Linked DNA regions of Homo sapiens: all the other regions are linked to region 4. Evidence: promoter capture Hi-C in 16 types of primary human blood cells and fetal thymus (Javierre and others, 2016). All regions are on one chromosome and are shown on one strand. The core of a region is centred on a gene start or on the middle of the fragment in contact, and the rest is flanking DNA. Distances in the headings are between cores, read along the strand shown. Region 1 overlaps CDH22 (cadherin 22). Region 2 has its middle 44 kb from the start of CD40. Region 3 overlaps DNTTIP1 (deoxynucleotidyltransferase terminal interacting protein 1). Region 4 holds the start of SLC12A5-AS1 (SLC12A5 and MMP9 antisense RNA 1).

Region 1 (2,837 bases), core at 167-2,666, 160 kb after region 4:
GACTGGAGGAGGAGGAGGCCTTCCACGGCTGCTGTGACCTCAGCGTGCTGCTGCCACCCTGTCCCCGGAGCTTACACCAGGTGGCACTCTGGATGGCAGCTCTGGTGCCCCCCCCTCTCCCCCAGCTAAACAAAAGCAACTGAGGCAGAATCTCGGGCCCCTTGGGTTGGAAAGCCTGGTGAACTTGGCAGAGTTGAGCCAAGGCTAGCTGTGTTTCCTGTGACCTGCTCAGGATACTACTGGACTAATGAATAGGCAGGGCTGTACTGGTTGTTAAAATATTGAAATACTTCCAAAAAAGGCTTAAATAGCTGTTGACACTAAGCCCCCCAAATCTCTCCCTGCTGCCTCAGCCTTTTCCCCAGGCAGCCTCCCAACTTTGACACAATCAAGCCACGAAGGAGTTAATGCCTGGTGTAGTAAAGTTTCCAGGGTCCTGCTCCAGGTTTTGGTCAGCGTCCTTTCTGATTGGCCATCTGAGCTGCACTGGTTGTTAAATCTGTTTATTATTTTTCATTATTTATTTTTAATTATTGATTGACTGAGACAAGGTCTCACTCTGTCTTCCAGGCTGGAGTGCAGTGGTGCGATCGTGGCTCAATGGAGCCTCAAACTCCTAGGCTCAAGTGATTCTCCTGCCTCAGCTTCCTGAGTAGCTGGGACTACAGGTGTGCGCCACCATGCCCAGCTAATTATTATTATTATTTTTAAAGAGATGGGTTTTCACTGTGTTGTCCAGGCTATTCTCAAACTCCTTGCCTCAAGGGATCCTCCTGCCTTGTGCTGGAGTTATAAACATGAGCCTTACATATTTTTAACAGGACTCCCAGGGGTACAGATGGGTCTGGCTTCAGAGGCCACTAAGGCTCCGCATTGGGTGTGAGTGTGTAAAGGCCTTGAGAAGGATCCCAGACCTGTTCCAAGGCCAGAAGGAACCCACATGATCTGGCCCCCTCGCTGACCACATCTCCTCCCAGTCCTGTCTCTTACTCACTCTAATCACACAGGTCTCCTCCATTCCTAATCCACCCCAGTCCTGCTCACCACAGGGCCTTTGCACTTGCTATTTCTTCCACTGGGGTGGTCGTTTTCTCTCATATCCTTTAGGTCCCTTCTCACTATGGATACCCTTGGAGAGTCCTTCCCAGGCCACCCTATTTAAGAAGATAGCTTCTCCTCTTACCCTGCTTTCTCTCTCTCTTTTTTTTTTTTTAGATGGAGTTTCGCTCTTGTTGCCCGGGCTGGAGGGCAATGGTGAGATCTCACCTCACTGCAACCTCCGCCTCCTGGGTTCAAGCAATTCTCCTGCCTCAGCCTCTGGAGTAGCTGGGATTACAGGCATGCGCCACCCTGCTGGACTAATTTTTGTATTTTTAGTAGAGACTGAGTTTCACCATGTTGGCCAGGCTGGTCTCGAACTTCTGACCTCAACTAATCCGCCCACTTCAGCCTCCCAAAGTGTTGAGATTACAGGGCTGAGCCACTGTGCCCTGCTTTATTTTTCACTGTTTCATTGAACACATTTTATCAAACACCTACGATATGCCAAGCACTGCTCCAGGCACCTAGGGTTGAACAAAGTCAAGTCCAGACCCTTGTGGAGATTGCATTATTCCTCCACCCCAGCCACTTATCATCCCCAACATACTTTTTTATTTGTGTCATTTCTGTCTCACCTCACTAGAATATAAACTAGGTTTTGTTGTGTTTGCTGTTGCATTTCCAGGACCCGGAGCAGACCCCGACACAGAGGCTTTGTGTCTCAATAAACACTCACTAAATAATTGCTGGATGTAGGAATTGACATTTCTAGGTATTAACACTATATCTTGGTGGCCCTTATCTTACTGGGGCTACCTAGCCACCCGAGGCAGTAGGTGTTACTCCCATTTTAGATGATGAAACTGAGGCTTAGAGAGGAACAGGCGCCCCAGCACTTTGGTAGGCCGAGGCGGGCAGATCACCTGAGGTCAGGAGTTCGAGACCAGCCTGGCCAACATGGCGAAACCTCGTCTCTACTAAAAATACAAAAATTAGCCTGGCGTGGTGGTGCGTGCCTGTAACCCCAGCTACTCTGAAGGCTGAGGCAAGAGAATCTCTTGACCCTGGGAGGCAGAGGTTGCAGTGAGCTGAGATCGCACCACTGCACTCCAGCCTGGGCAACAGAATGAGATGCTGTCTCAAACAAACAAACAAACAAAAAACAACAAAAAAACCCCACACGCATACACACACACACACACACACACACACACACACAAACAACAACAAACACAAAAAAACCAGAGAGGAACAGGAGCTTGCCAGGGTGGTATAGAGCACCCTTCGCTGAGCCTGGTCCCTTATTTCCAGTCTGGTGACTGCCCCCTTCCCTCAGTCTATTCCTTAAAGGTTCAAACATCAACATCATGAGAAACTTGTGAGAGCCAGAGGGGAGGAATCTCACAGTGGACTCAGGCAGGGCAGGGCAGTTTGCTTTCCAGGTGGTGTGCTGAGGCAGGAAGCACACTGGACTTGGGATGGGGTTGGGTTGAATCCTACCCACACCACTGACTCCCTATATGACCCTGGGCAGGACTCTTTCTCTCTTAGAGTCTCAGTTTCATCACCTGTAAAATGGGGAGAGGAGTCAGAAAACTACCTCACAGGATGGCTGTGAGGTTGCAGAAAGAAATGTGAGTGGGCCTGGCGTGGTGTCTCATGCCTATAATCTCAGCTCTTTGGGAGGCCGAGGTAGGAGGATTGTTTGAGCCCAGGAGCTCGATACCAGCCTGGGCAACACAGCAAGACCCCATTTCTACAAAAAATAAAACAATTAGCCAGATCTGATGGTGTGC
Region 2 (2,960 bases), core at 11-2,510, 140 kb after region 4:
CTGAGCTCTGTGGTCTCAGAGGCAGATTCCCTGGCATTACAGAGGGGCAGTGACTGTGCTCCAAAGGCCTCCTTTCTTCCTTCCATGTGTGCATCCTGCATCACGTGTGCATCCACCATTCCCCCACCCGCCCTCCCACACATCAACAGATGTTTATGGAGCCCTCTCCTTGGCTATGCATTGCACTGTGTAAGGCCCTGAGGACAGGGTGGTAGACAGGACCAAGAAGAGGTGTCCATCCTTCCCAAGAACATTCACTCACTCATTCATTTACTCAACAGATGTTTACTGTGCTTCTGTTATGTGCCAGCCACCATGGCTAGTGGCTATACAATGATGATCAAGAAATATAAGGTTCCTCTACTCAGGGGCATCAGGAGGATGCCCCTCCAGCCTTCAGGATGGGCACTGATGGGTACTCCTGAGAATAAAGGTGATGGAGCCCTAAGGCTGGTGATGAGTGCTTACGGTGCCCCCAAAGTCATCACTGATGACTTTCATCAGTGATGGTATCCTTTCAGCAATATTGGTATCCTTTCAGCAATATTGGTATCCTTTCAACGATGATAGTATCCTTTCATCAATGATAGCATCCTTTCATCGATGATGGTATCCTTGACGTATTAGTGTTAAGTATTGATATGCTTCAAGCACATCAGTTACAGACACTGTCACTCCTAGGGCATCAAGGATGGGTGCTAGTGGGTAGAAACCTTTTGCTTCTGTGGGAGATCTTGGTTCATCCTCCACATTTGGCCTTTCTTCTTCCACTCAAAGCTCTTGCAGGCAGACAGACCTATGGTGGACTCTGTGGCCCAAGACATTATATGATGGTGGCCGTCCCACAGCCTCCCCCACTGAAAGGGCTGGCTTCCCACTGGAGGCCAATTTATTCTTTTGCCTGGGCTTCTCTCTGCAGCTAGAATGTCATTTTCCACAAAACCCTCTTTCTTGTAATTACTGAGAATTACTCATGAAGAGAGAGAGGAGAGAGAGAGTGTGTGTGGGTATTGATTGCCACCCTGAGAAGCTCAGGAATCATTTAGAGTAGATTAACCTAACTTTCTTTTGCCTTTTGGGAAGTTGGACTCTGACTTATTTGAGGAGATTAATCAGCTCATAAGAAATCTGGACAGCCTTCCTACCTCTTCTATCTCTTTTTGGATTAGCTGGGGCCATGTCATTTTCACCATGCCTTCGAAATATCCTTTTCCTCACTCTCTAGCACTCCGTCTACATTTTCACTATTATTGCCCAGTCCATTTAGTTCAGCAGGATTCTCTGTAGCTCCTCTTTTGGGGAATGGGTGGAGGCGTCCCTGGCTGCCATTAGATTACCCTGATAGCCTTGTTGCCTGGATCTTGGGTGGGCACAACTTCAGGGAGGGCTGGGCCACTACAGGCAAGTCTCCTGCATCCAAGCCCGGGGTCTCTGCAGCTGTCACGTAGGAAGAGTCCAACCATTCCATTCTAAAATGCAGTATTTTCCAGAGTCTTTTCTGCGAGGTTTGCACATTGATTCTGCAGATGCTAATCCTATCCATCCAGTCTTCCGGACTTCCAGGTGCTGCTCATCCATCCCCTCCTCTTCCCTTGCAGGAAGCTATCCCAGACTAAGCACTAGTCCTGCTTACTGAGGCAGAGAGGATGGGAAATGAGAGGAGAGAAAGGAAGCCTGAGAGGGGAAAGGGAGAAGAGAAAAGGTGGTGAGTGGCCCCGGGGAAGGAGTCAGCATTTGCCTGACTCTGCGACACATTTTGTGGAGTGCAAAAAGGGCAGGTTCCGGAGCCAGACAGACTTGGGGTTAAATCTCAGCTCTACTCCTTCCTAGCTTGGTGACCTTGGGCAAGTCACTTTACCTCTCTGAGATTTCATTGTTCACATGGGATGATAACAGTTCCTAGCTCACATTACCATTGCCAAATGAGATCTTGTATGTGACATGCTGAAAGCAAGGCCTGGCGCTTAGTGGGTGTGCCATTGACAGCAGGTGGATATCGCCAGGCCCCAAACATGGGGGACTCCCAATGAATCTTCTGTAAAGACTTGATGTATGATACGGAACTTCATCCTTGGGAGCCTCTACTCCTCTTCCTCATCCCCCTGTCTCCAGGTAGCTGCAGAAGGAGCAGCCAGGATACCCGGGTCTTTGGCAGGTGAGGCCCAGATTCTCAGCTCCTGGGAAGCTGAGAATATTGCAGGTCCTTGCTGCTGCTTCTCTCCTCTTCCAGGAAAAAGTTTGAAGTCAAATGGGTCCCGAGGTGGAATATTTTCCAAATGTCAGTGCAGTCTGTGGTACATTACAGCTAAATGTGATCATCTCAGTGCTGGGCTCTGAATGTCAGCGCACTGGCCGTGATGGAGTGACAAATAGCAGGTTGACAGGTGGGGCTGTGGCCCCCCCCCCTTCCCCTGGGAAATCAGCCTGGGGAACTGGGCCATCTCTGGGTTCAGCAGGTGAGGACCATGGGCCTCTGTGGGGACACGGAGTGGGCTTTGAGGGGTCCTGTGCGTGTGATGTGTGCATGCATGTGTGCACATGTGGCAATGTCTCTGTGCCTGTACACTTCCTCTTCGGTGTGCACAAAGGCTCAGACACCCTGGGAGGGAGTTCACTAAGCACAGCTGGAGATCTGTGTGTGGCTGTTGTATGTGTGTTCTTCATCTCCATCTCCATCATGTTCTCCGTGAGTCTACACTCATTAGTAGAACTGCTTGCATGGTGTACACACATTTTCACTAACTGACCGTGAGACTGCGTGTACCTGTATAGATAGACACCATCTATCTCTTGCAGTCTTTTCTATGGCGTACATGTGTGTACATGATCTTCCTGTGCCCATATGTGTAGTTGTGTGTGTGGACAATTGTGTATGGTTCTGTGAATAGTATTTGATTGTATGTGTGTGTGTGTGTGTGTGTGTGTGTGGTTGTCTAGGTTTATAAATTCCATCTCAACAG
Region 3 (2,781 bases), core at 180-2,679, 220 kb before region 4:
GATGGATTAAAGACTTAAATGTTAGACCTAAAACCATAAAAACCCTAGAAGAAAACCTAGGCAATACCATTCAGGACATAGGCATGGGCAAGGACTTCATGACTAAAACACCAAAAGGAATGGCAACAAAAGCCAAAATTGACAAATGGGATCTAATTAAACTAAAGAGCTTCTGCACAGCAAAAGAAATGACCATCAGAGTGAACAGGCAACCTACAGAATGGGAGAAAATTTTTGCAATCTACTCATCTGACAAAGGGCTAATACCCAGAATCTACAATGAACTCTAACAAATTTACAAGAAAAAAACAAGCAACCCCATCAACAAGTGGCCAAAGGACATGAACAGACACTCCTCAAAAGAAGACATTTATGCAGCCAAAAGACACATGAAAAAATGCTCATCATCACTGGCCATCAGAGAAATGCAAATCAAAACCACAATGAGATACCATCTTACACCAGTTAGAATGGTGATCATTAAAAAGTCAGGAAACAACAGGTGCTGGAGAGGATGTGGAGAAATAGGAACACTTTTACACTGTTGGTGGGACCGTAAACTAGTTCAACCATTGTGGAAGTCAGTGTGGCGATTCCTCAGGGATCTAGAACTAGAAATACCATTTGACCCAGCCATCCCATTACTGGGTATATACCCAAAGGAATATAAATCATGCTGCTATAAAGACACATGCACACATATGTTTATTGTGGCACTATTCACAATAGCAAAGACTTGGAACCAACCCAAATGTCCAACAATGATAGACTGGATTAAGAAAATGTGGCACATATATACCATGGAATACTATGCAGCCATAAAAAGTGATGAGTTCATGTCCTTTTTAGGGACATGGATGAAGCTGGAAACCATCATTCTCAGCAAACTATCACAAGGACAAAAAACCAAACACCGCATGTTCTCACTCATGGGTGGGAATTGAACAATGAGAACACATGGACACAGGAAAGGGAACATCAGACACCGGGGCCTGTCGTGGGGTTGGGGGAGGGGGGAGGGATAGCATTAGGAGATATACCTAATGTTAAATGACGAGTTACTGGGTGCAGCACACCAACAAGGCACATGTATACATATGTAACAAACCTGCATGTTGTGCACATGTACCCTAAAACTTAAAGTATAATTTAAAAAAAAATGCCTTACCATGACCCACAGAGCCTACCCTCGACTGGCTTCTGCCTGCTTCTTTAACTTCATTTCATCTCACCTCTTTTTTATTGACTATACTCTGGCTGTTCTGAACTCCTTTCTGCTCCTCCAGCACAAGCTTAGGCCATTTCACTTGCTGTTCTTAGTACCTGGGGTACTCTACCCTTAACTCTATAAAGCCGGCTCCTTCTTTTCTTCAGATCTTAGTTTAAATATCAGAGAGGTCTTCCCCTCGCACTCCTACCTCTGCTAAAATCTTGAGCTTTACAAGAGTTGAGGCCTAATCTTGTTCACCACTGTATTCCCAGCCCTGGAATATGACTCTTAGTATGTGTACAGAGTTTGCTGAATTATTGAGTAAATGAAGGAACAAACAAATGATAAATGAACAAACAAGCTTCCTGCTCTAATAGAACTTAACAGCCTACTTAAGCAGACAGGTGTGAATTAGATTACCAACAAATGTGTGCATAATTACACATTGAGACTTGATCACCCTTCACTGGAAAGGGACAAAGTTTGGAGGAGAAGAGCATGAATCCAATTATGGATTAGCAGCTTTGAGCCATCCAAGCATAGACATGGGGCAGACTATTTGGTATATAAGTCTAGAGCTCAGAGGATAACCTTTTGTCTACAGTTGAATTATGGAATCGTGGTTTATAGATGTTAATTGAAGCTGTGAGAATAGGTGAGAGCAGATAGAATATGTAATGAGAGAGGATAGGGAAAAGAACCAGATTGAGAAGGAAAAGCCAGCAAAGAAGGCTAAGAAAGAACGGCCAGAGAAGTAGAAGGAACACAGGAAGTGTGGCCACAGGAGCCTGTAGAAAAGAGTGTTTCCAGAAGGGGGAGCCCTCAGCACTGTCAAATGCCACTGGCAGAGGTCGGGTGAACCCAATTCTCCACCTGCTGCACCATCTCCCCTCTGCCCATTCCATCCTTTTCTTTGTCAAATGAGCCAGGTGTTCCCACCTTTGAGCTTCTGCACTCCTCCCTGCTGCTGAAACACTTCTGCCCAGCTTTTTTTACAGCCTCCTTCACATCTCAACTCAGAGGCCACCTTCTGAGCAAGGCCTTCCCTGGCCATTCCCGCAAAGTAGCCCTTCCCCTCTGGTGGTTCTCTGTCACATCTGCCTGGGTTTTTTTCTTTTTTTCTCACAGCATCTATCATGATCCACAGTTACCTTGTTTGTTTCTGTGCTTATTATCCAGATCACCCACAAACTATAAGCTCCACAAGAGCTTGTCCTAGTTACTGCTGTGTCCACAGCACTTAGGTCCCAGGTACTCAGTATTTATTAAAAGAAAAACAGCAGGCCAGGCGCACTGGCTCACGCCTGTAATCCCAACACTTTGGGAGGCTGAGGCGGGCAGATCACGAGGTCAGAAGTGTGAGACTAGCCTAGCCAACGTGATAAAACCCCATCTCTACTAAAAATACCAAAAAAAAAAAAAAAAAAAATTAGCTGGGTGTGGTTGCACGCCTGTAATCCCAGCTACTCAGGAGGCAGAGGCAGGAGAATTGCTTGAACCTGGGAGGCGGAGATTGCAGACAGCCGAGATCGCACCACTGTACTCCAGTCTGGGCAACAGAGCAAGATTCC
Region 4 (2,751 bases), core at 79-2,578:
GTTTCACTTTCAAAACCTAACTGGAATCAGACAACTGCCACCACTCTAGTCTGGCTGTCATCACCCCCCAGCTTGGGGTCTGCAGGAGCCTCCTAATTAGATTTCCAGCTTCTACTCTTGCCATTCTTTAGTTGAACCTTCGCCCAGCAGCCAGAATGATCCTGTTAAATTATAAATTGGATCACATCATTCCCCTGCTCAAAAAATCCAGGATCCTCCCCAAAGCCTTCAGAAGACCACATGATCTGCCCTTCTCTCCTCCCTCATCTCCAGTCACTCTCTTCTCCACTCACTCTCTTCCAGACACAATGGCCTTGCTGTTTCTTGGACAGTCGGGACTCCTTCTCACTCCAAGGCTCTGCATTTGCTGTTTCTTCTTCTAGAGAACTCTTCCCCCTAGATCTTTGCATAGCTGGCCCTTCTCATCAGTGAGGTCTCAGCTCAAATACCACATCTTCTAGGAGGCCTTCTCAGGCCACCCCTAAAGTAGTCCTCCCTCTTACCCATTATCCCATGGCCCTAGTTTTAAACATACATCCAATCTCAAATGATCTCATCTATGCATTTGCTCACTTATAATCTTTTTCTCCTTATTAGAATTTAAGCCACTTGAGGGCAAGAAGCCAGTGGATCTCATCCACCGACGTATCCCTCGCACCATTGACCGAAACACAGGAGCGCTATCGACATGTGCCGAATGAATGAATGAATGAATGAATGAGCCCCAGGTGTTTAGGAGACCCTAACAGAGGTGCCCCCGTTGTAGGGACGACTCTCACCTGCAGATGGCCTCCTCAGGCCCTTCGGGTGGCACTGGGGAGCCCAGGGCCTCCCAGCGAAGTGGCCAGATTCAGGAACCCTTCGCACAGCGGGCACTAGGACCCTGCGCGGCGCCGCGTCTCGCGGGGGGCGGGCGGGCGGAGGGGGTTGGGGGATCCGCTCTTTCTCCCTCCTAGAGCCTGGTTGCAGCCACTTGTGCGATCCCGGACCTTGCCGCGGCCGCCTGGCTCCTTTCCGCGCCATGAGCCGCAGGTTCACGGTCACCTCGCTGCCCCCCGCAGGGCCCGCCAGAAGCCCTGACCCAGAGTCCCGCCGGCATTCGGTCGCAGACCCCCGCCACCTCCCGGGGGAAGACGTCAAAGGTAGAGGCCGCAGGGGGCGGGGCCTGCCAGGGCCGGGCGGGACGAGGGGGAGGGGCCGGGGCGGACCGTCTGTTGAAGGGGGCAGGGCCAAGACCGGGGGCGGGGAGGGGTCCCAGCCCTAGGCCTGAGAGGGGAATGGAGCCAGGACTAGGAAACCAAGGGGCCGGGGCCGCGGAACGCAAAGTGTGGAGGGGGAGGGGCCAAACGCGAGGTGGGCGTGGCCACGAGGGAAAGGGGTGGGGCCAGGGAAGGGGTTTGGACGGAGGCGAAGGGGGCGGGTCTGGTGATGGAAAGGCCGGGGTCAAGGTGGAGAGTAGGCCGTAGGGCACTAAAGGGGCGGGGACATCTCGAGTAGGGAGCGGGACCAGAGTGAGGAGGTGGAACTAGGGAAAAAGGGGGCTGTGTGTTGAAGGGGGATGGTCAGGAGCCCCTAAAGGGGAGGCGGCGGGACTAGGTTGGTTTGGGGTCAGGAAAGGGCGGGACTAGTAGGGAATGAGTTGGGCCAGGAGGATGGGAGTGGGGCCTGGGAGGGGGGTGGGGTCGAGGGCGGGAGGAAAACTGAGTCAGGGTTGCCGAGGCAGGTGCCAGGTCAGCGGGTCCTCGGTGCCTGGCGGATCCTCCAATCCTCTAGCTCCCTGGAGGCTTAGCGGACAGCGACTGGGGATCCCGGGAAGGAGACGGGAGGCAGGGAAGTTAGTATGGATCCTGGGCAGCGAGATTCAGGGAGGATGCCGTAGGGTCGCTGATCCCGACTCTTGGGGACCCACTTAGCTCCTTGTCTGCTCGAGCTCCGTAAGGGTTGGGAGGAGCCAGCTCAGGCGGGGTTGGGGGCGTCTTCCTCGCGGGCCCTGTGCAGGGTCTTGTAATGGAAGTTACACGCAGGGCACAGAGTATAGGGGAGGGGAAAGATCCTTCTGGCCTTCGGTGGAGAAGTAGCATCCTGGGCGCGTGCACAGTCTCCCCTCAGGGGGCACTCATCAGGGGTCCTCTCCCTGGCTCTGAGGCCCTCGGGTCTGGAAGGAACAAGGCGAATCGGCTTGTAGTGGCCCCAGCGAGGGGAGGAGGAGGAGGAGGAGGAGGAGGAGGAGGAAGAGGAGGAGGAGGAAGAGGAGGAGGAAGAGGAGGAGGAGGAGAAGGAGGAGGAGAAGCCTCCCCAGACCGCCAGGGGTCGCTGCCGAGCCGCAGGTGAGCTCGCCCCGAAGCAAACCCAAGCGCCGAAACCCCTAGAGTAACCCTTAGGGGGTTATCTGGCGGACCTCCTCATTGTACAGATGACCAAATTGAGGCCTGGAATTCCGAATGGCCCCAGTCCCGGGAACCGAACGCCTCCTGGTTGTGGCCACTTGGATTTCTTGGGCTCCTTCCACTCTTCATCTTTCTCATAATCTCTTTTCTCATTTTCATGAATGACCTTACCAGCCTCCCAGATTTGAAAGTAAGAAATTCTGGAGCCATTCTCAACCCTTCCTTTTTTCTTTCCAGCAAATCCAACTGATCCCCACGTCTTGGCCATTCACCTCTGAAACTTATCCTGAATCTGGCAGCATCGGTCCCCCCTCTGTCATCATCGCCCTGCTCCAAGCCTCACATGGCCACGACCACATCCTCT

Evidence for each region. Contacts are between HindIII fragments. The CHiCAGO score rates a contact against its expected background, and 5 or more counts as called.
Region 1: a contact is called between a fragment that was not itself captured here and the fragment with the promoter of SLC12A5-AS1 in region 4, in 9 of 17 cell types (naive B cells, total B cells, naive CD4 T cells and 6 more). The highest score is 9.0, in naive B cells.
Region 2: a contact is called between a fragment that was not itself captured here and the fragment with the promoter of SLC12A5-AS1 in region 4, in 1 of 17 cell types (naive B cells). The highest score is 5.6, in naive B cells.
Region 3: a fragment that was not itself captured here is called in contact with the fragment with the promoter of SLC12A5-AS1 in region 4 in 5 of 17 cell types (fetal thymus, total CD4 T cells, total CD8 T cells and 2 more); the score reaches 5.8 in fetal thymus.

The regions. Positions count from the first base shown.
Region 1 is chr20:46,182,904-46,185,740 of GRCh38, forward strand. All of the region lies in intron 10 of CDH22 (cadherin 22), which reads right to left. Among named protein-coding and RNA genes, the nearest start is that of CD40, 66 kb to the left of the region's middle. The HindIII fragment of the contact is 9,259 bases long and covers 1-2,837 here.
Region 2 is chr20:46,161,275-46,164,234 of GRCh38, forward strand. No RefSeq gene overlaps it. Among named protein-coding and RNA genes, the nearest start is that of CD40, 44 kb to the left of the region's middle. The HindIII fragment of the contact is 4,970 bases long and covers 1-2,960 here.
Region 3 is chr20:45,797,334-45,800,114 of GRCh38, forward strand. All of the region lies in intron 4 of DNTTIP1 (deoxynucleotidyltransferase terminal interacting protein 1), which reads left to right. Among named protein-coding and RNA genes, the nearest start is that of DNTTIP1, 6.8 kb to the left of the region's middle. The HindIII fragment of the contact is 279 bases long and covers 1,291-1,569 here.
Region 4 is chr20:46,020,745-46,023,495 of GRCh38, forward strand. SLC12A5-AS1 (SLC12A5 and MMP9 antisense RNA 1) reads right to left here and starts at 1,329. Exons shown (of 3, transcript NR_147699.1): 1 at 780-1,329. It also overlaps a transcript of SLC12A5 not described here. RefSeq lists silencers at 840-999, 1,020-1,379. The HindIII fragment of the contact is 8,792 bases long and covers 1-2,751 here.